Regions from separate parts of the Homo sapiens genome. Here region 2 is linked to region 1. The links are contacts of gene promoters, found by promoter capture Hi-C in human tissues and cell types (Jung and others, 2019). All regions are on one chromosome and are shown on one strand. Each heading gives the region's core, a stretch centred on a gene start or on the middle of the fragment in contact. The rest is flanking DNA. Distances are from core to core; before and after follow the strand shown. Region 1 holds the start of OR5H6 (olfactory receptor family 5 subfamily H member 6). Region 2 has its middle 44 kb from the start of OR5H6.

Region 1 (2,894 bases), core at 10-2,509:
AATATTTTTATTTTCTTTCTGCTAATATTATTCAATTATGATATGAACATGATTAAAATTTCTTAAGTGCTATTGAATAACATTAGGGATATATTTATTAGTTTAATAGGTACTAAAACCTTAGGCCATTAAAGTGCTAGGACTTTGCATCATCTTTGAATGCTGGCAAGACATAGACACCTCTAACTTGCACAATCTTGGGACAATTTTAGTAAATAGAGAAGAGAGATTGTATGAGATCTAAACATTGCTTTTGAACATTTTTGTGAATGAAGCTATTACTTGCTTGTTTCTCAGGCTGTAGATCATGGGATTTAATAAAGGAACTATGACAGTGTAAAATAGAGACTCCATCATATCTTGGTCATCTGCTTGCGGAGATGCAGAGCCCAGATATTTGAAGGTGAGGGGGCCATAGTATAAAGATACAGATAAGAGATGAGCCCCACAGGTGGAGACAGCTTTTCGTATCCCTTTGATAGACTTCTTTTCTAAGATTGTAAAGAGGATAATTGTATAAGATATAAGAATAGTTCCAATGGTAAAAACTTGAACAGAACCTGCGAAAATAAAAACCATTAGAAAGTTAATAGAGGAATCAGTACAGGAAATCTTTAACAATGGGATAATGTCACAGTAAAAGTGTTGTATTATGTTGGAATTACAGAAGGTTAATCTGAATGAAAAAGCTTCATGGATTAAAGCATGAAGAAGGCCACCTATAAATGACAAGACTAATAGCTGAATGCATAGTTCATTGGTCATAATGACTGGATAAAGTAAAGCTTTGCAAATGGCTACATAGCGATCATATGCCATTGTTGCCAAGAGAAAACATTCTGTGGTTACAGTGGTTACAAGGGAAAAAAATTGTACCATGCATTCAGAGAGAGATATCATCTTACTCTTAGCTAAGAAGTTGATCAGCATCTTCGGAGTCACTGTGGATGATAACGAAGCATCCACAAAGGCTAAACTCCCAAGGAATAAGTACATTGGGATATGAAGGTGAGGGTCTTTCCAGATGAGAACAATTAGACCAAGATTCCCCATGATGGTGATGAGATATATTACCAAGAATGCCAGGAAGAGCGGTATTTTACAGTCAGGTTGATGTAAAAATCCTGTGAGAACAAACTCTGTCAGCAATGTTGCATTTTCCTCTTCCATCTCCTCACTGCATGTCCTCTGAAAAATGAAGCAAAGGTAAAGGAACATTTGCAATGGAATTGTGAGTTGAAATTGGGGAAGAGGTGTTGAAATAAACTATGTAATTATCGAGCCCTCTTAATTTTTTTTGATCAGTGCTATAATTGATGAACCCTATATTTGAGGATTTAAATACATGGAAATAATAATGAATTTGGTTTGAAAATTGTGTAGGAGTTAACAGACTGAGAGTTAAAAAGACGCATTATCTGAATGTACTAAATTTTTGTGGACTCTACTGAATGTAATGAAAAAAATCTGTCTGGGACATGGATGTAGGGTGAAGGAAAAAAGATATTTGAAAGACGCAGGTTAAAATAAATGGAATGAATGCAATGTGAAGAATCTCAAATTTTATTCTTCACACAATAAACATGCACCAAATATTTTAGGATACAAAATGGCATCATGATATATTTTTAAAATTTAGTTCTTGGTAGTGTAAAAGTATGCTGCAGAAAGGAAACAGTGATTCAGGAGTCCTAATTAGAAACTTGATACTAAGGTCAAAGGGATCCCAAATTAGATTACACATGAGAATCATCTGGGAGAGTATTTTTTAATGAAAAATACAGATTGTGAGGTTTTATTGTAGAAATTGATGATTTCAGGAATGAGGTCTAGGAATCTGTATTTTGGAAATACCCTCAAGTGATTGAAATGCATGTGAAGTCTCTAGTCCCAGTTTGAAATGACACTGGAAGACGTGGTAGGACAAATGAATAGATTCAAAGGAATTCGAAATGTAGAGTCTCTAGTATTCTGTGACATATTCAGTTTGAAGTATGTGGTCAGTGAAGGAGAGAGAAGTCACTTGGTGACTAGATAGGTGGACATTAAACATTTAGGATGAGAACTCAAATTGCTGGCAAGTTTTTGGAGTGAGCATCACATCTGAACAACTAGGTGAGATTCAATCAGTAATATGGGTCTATTAGAGCTTAATAGAAGTAATTACCTGGAATCATTGTAGTATTTGAAGGCATCATTAGAAATGATGTACAAAGTGGATATAATCTTTTATAAGATGGTCAAGATCTAATCCTCTTTTTTGCCACCCAAGTCTTGGGGGCTTTCTGAGGTTACCTATTGCTATTGCTCTAGAAGCCAAAAGGATTAGAAAGTCATTTTCCCATTCTTCTTGCCTGTAGAGAGAAGAAACAGTGACCTAGGACGGCAATGAAACACATTGATCCTACCTTTGGAATATGGATAGAAGAAGAAAAGTGGATCAAAAGTGGATTTTAGTTGTAAATTCAGCCATGACAGAAATACCATGAATCCACTGAATGCATCCTTCATCTATATCAATAACACATACAGTGTGAGCTGTCAAATTATGGCCAGAAGTGTGTATATGAATACAAAAGTTAATTTTTAAGTGACTAGCCTTAAGAGTTTTAGTCCGAGAATGTGCATAATTAAAAACAATGAGTATTTTTATCAGAATAATCTGAAAAAAATTCTTAGAATCATTATGATAAAACCAGTCTCATTTGTTTAATGTCCTACAGCATCACAAATTGTCATATAACATCATAATAAGGTTAACAAAAAATAAAATATCATTAAAGAAACAATGTTGTCTTATAACTATTTATCCTATCCATATCATAGTCATGAAGCTAAAATATAGAGATAAGCCAGTAATAGCTATCGAATTTCAACCTGGCTATTTTGACAGC
Region 2 (2,700 bases), core at 58-2,557, 44 kb after region 1:
ACTCTTCACATAATAAGCATGCACCAAATGTTTTAAGATGGGAAATGGCATCATAACATATTTTTTAATTTAGTGATTGATAGTGTAGAAAATGTGCTACAGGAAGGGGAAACTGACTCATGGATATTAACCAAAAACTTGTTACTAAAGTCAAGGTGATCCCAAATCAGATTACACATGAGAATCACCTAGCAGTGTTTTTTCTATGAAAAATACAGATTGCAAGGTTTTAATGTGGAAATTATTTCAGAAACAGAGTCTAGGGATCTGCATTTTGAAAATACCCTCAAAGCGATTCAAAAGCATATTAAGGGTCTAGTCCATGTGATGTCATTGGAGGAGATGGTAAGTCAAAGAAATAGATTCAAAAGAATTCAGAATGTAGAGTCCCTAGTATTCTGTGACATATTTGGTGAGAAAAAAAAGTGGTTAATGAAGGAGGGAAGAGTCACTTGGTGACTGGGTAAGTGGTCATTAAATATTGAGGATGGGAACTCAGTTGCGCTGGCAAGTTTTGGAGTGAGCATCATGTGACCAATTAGGTGACATCCAATCAGTAATGTGAACCTACTATAGCTTCATAGAAATAATTACTTGGAATCATTGTGGTAGTCAAAGACATAGTTAAAAATGATGTATCCATTGGAGATTAGACAAGTAAAAAAAAGAATGACAAGAAAATAAACTTAAGGAAATTATATTAAAAGAGGTAACAAAGTGGATATGCATCCTTTAGAAGATGGCCAAAAGCTGATCCTCTTTTTTGCCACCCAAGTCTTGGCGGCTGTCAGAGGTTACCTACTGTTCTAAAAGCCAAAGAACTAGAAACTCATTTTCCCATTCTTCTTGCTTCTAGAGTGAAGAGACATGATCTAGGATGGCCAATGAAACACACTCATGCTACATTTGGAATATGGAGAAAGAGGGAGAAAATAGTTTAGGAACAAAGGCAGATTTTCTTTGCAAAGTCAGCCAAGGCAGAAATACTAGGACTCCACCTAACGCATCTTTCATCCACAGTAAAAACATTTACAGTGTGAGCTGTCAAATTATTGTTAAAATGGGTATAAGTTTACAAGGGTTAATATGTAAGTGACTCACCTTAAAAGCTTTAATCAGAGGATGTAATTAAGTAAAAGAATGGGTATTTGTATCAGAAAATTTAGAAATAATTCTAAGAATCATTATGATCTGAATCCTTAAACCCAGTTCTAATTATTTAACGTACTAGTTCACCAGAAGTTATCTTATAAAATCATTATAACGTTAACAAAATACTAAAATATCATCAAAATAACAATTTAGTCTTATAACTATTTACCCTATCCATATTATAGTCATGAAACTAAAATATAAAGATAACCCAATATTTGTTGTCTAATTTCAACCTGGTTATTTAGACAGATTGTGTACCCAATGTAAAATTATAATGAAATAAATAACACTTTTAACATTTCTATGAAGCATAATGAAAATTATAGAAATTATTTCTTCCTTACCCATATTTTGAAAGAAATTGTGGAGATCCTTTAAAACTATTAGGCTCTCTGGCCAGGTGCAGTGGCTCACGCCTCTAATCCCAGCACTTTGGGAGGCCAAGGCGGGTAGATCACCAGAGGTCAGGAGTTCAAGACCAGCCTGGTCAACATGGTGAAACCCCATCTCTACTAAAAATACAAAATTAGCCGGGTGTGGTGGTGTGCGCCTGATAATCCCAGCTACTCGGGAGGCTGAGGCAGGAGAATCTTTTGAACCTGGGAGCCAGAGGTTGCAGTGAGCCAAGATAGCACCATTACACTGCAGCCTGGGTGACAGAGTGAGACTCTGTAAAAAAAAAAAAAAAATTAAAAATAAAAAACATTAGGCTTTCTAAAACAGAAATAAAATATAACAACACAGGAATGCCAACAATTCATGGCATATTCATTCTTTTTGGATGTTTCTTTTCCCATTCTCAGGAAAATGTTGTTAATATAAATTTGAATTGAACATAGAATCATTCAGTAGTACAACTCTGTACTTTTGCCAGAAGATGAAGGAGCAGAAAAACCAAAATTCTCATAAGAGTGCCAGAAGACTCCCTGTAGGACAAATCGATGCTGTTCTAGTGAGCACGGTGGATTTGGTCATGTATGAGAAGTGCAGGTTGTCTCAAATGGCAGTACAAATTCTGGAATCATAACCATCATTTCAATGTAGACACTTCCAGTTTTAACAATTGACATAGTACTTATGCCACTATTTACCACCACAGGTGGCACTTCTGGCATGTTTGTGCAAGTTTTAGTTCACATATGAAATCTACTCTTAGTGTTTTGATTAGGATGGTCTCCTCCGAAGTAATCAAAACATAATTTTAACAAGGCCAAAGTCTCTGATTCCCTCAGGAGCCAAACCCAAATACGGTTGTCTTCCCCATGCAAATTACAGCTCAAATTTTTGACATAAACCTTGTTCCCCTGTTGTAAGCTAAAATCTCATGGGAAACTTTATTAGGCATAGTTCAACAGGAGAGCAAATCGAAAAACACAGACACCACACTGTAAGGTGTCCTATATCTGTGCTGCTCAAACTATAATGCCTATGACTTTCCTAGTGATGTTGTCAAAAATGCAGACTCTGTTTTAGTAGTTCTGGCGTGAGTCATTCAGGAGCCTTTATTTCTAACACAGTGATGACTGTGGACATTTGCATCCAACA

What was found. The method cuts DNA at HindIII sites, captures the fragments that hold promoters and counts their contacts. A contact is called where the count stands out against the background at its distance.
Region 2: a contact is called between a fragment that was not itself captured here and the fragment with the promoter of OR5H6 in region 1, in 1 of the 25 tissues and cell types used here (liver).

What each region holds. Positions count from the first base shown.
Region 1 is chr3:98,262,609-98,265,502 of GRCh38, reverse strand. It overlaps OR5H6 (olfactory receptor family 5 subfamily H member 6), which reads right to left and starts at 1,259. Exons shown (of 1, transcript NM_001005479.2): 1 at 147-1,259. The coding sequence starts at 1,170. The coding sequence ends at 241. It also overlaps a transcript of LOC105373999 not described here. The HindIII fragment of the contact is 14,089 bases long and covers 1-2,894 here.
Region 2 is chr3:98,218,947-98,221,646 of GRCh38, reverse strand. No RefSeq gene overlaps it. Among named protein-coding and RNA genes, the nearest start is that of OR5H6, 44 kb to the left of the region's middle. The HindIII fragment of the contact is 5,010 bases long and covers 1-2,700 here.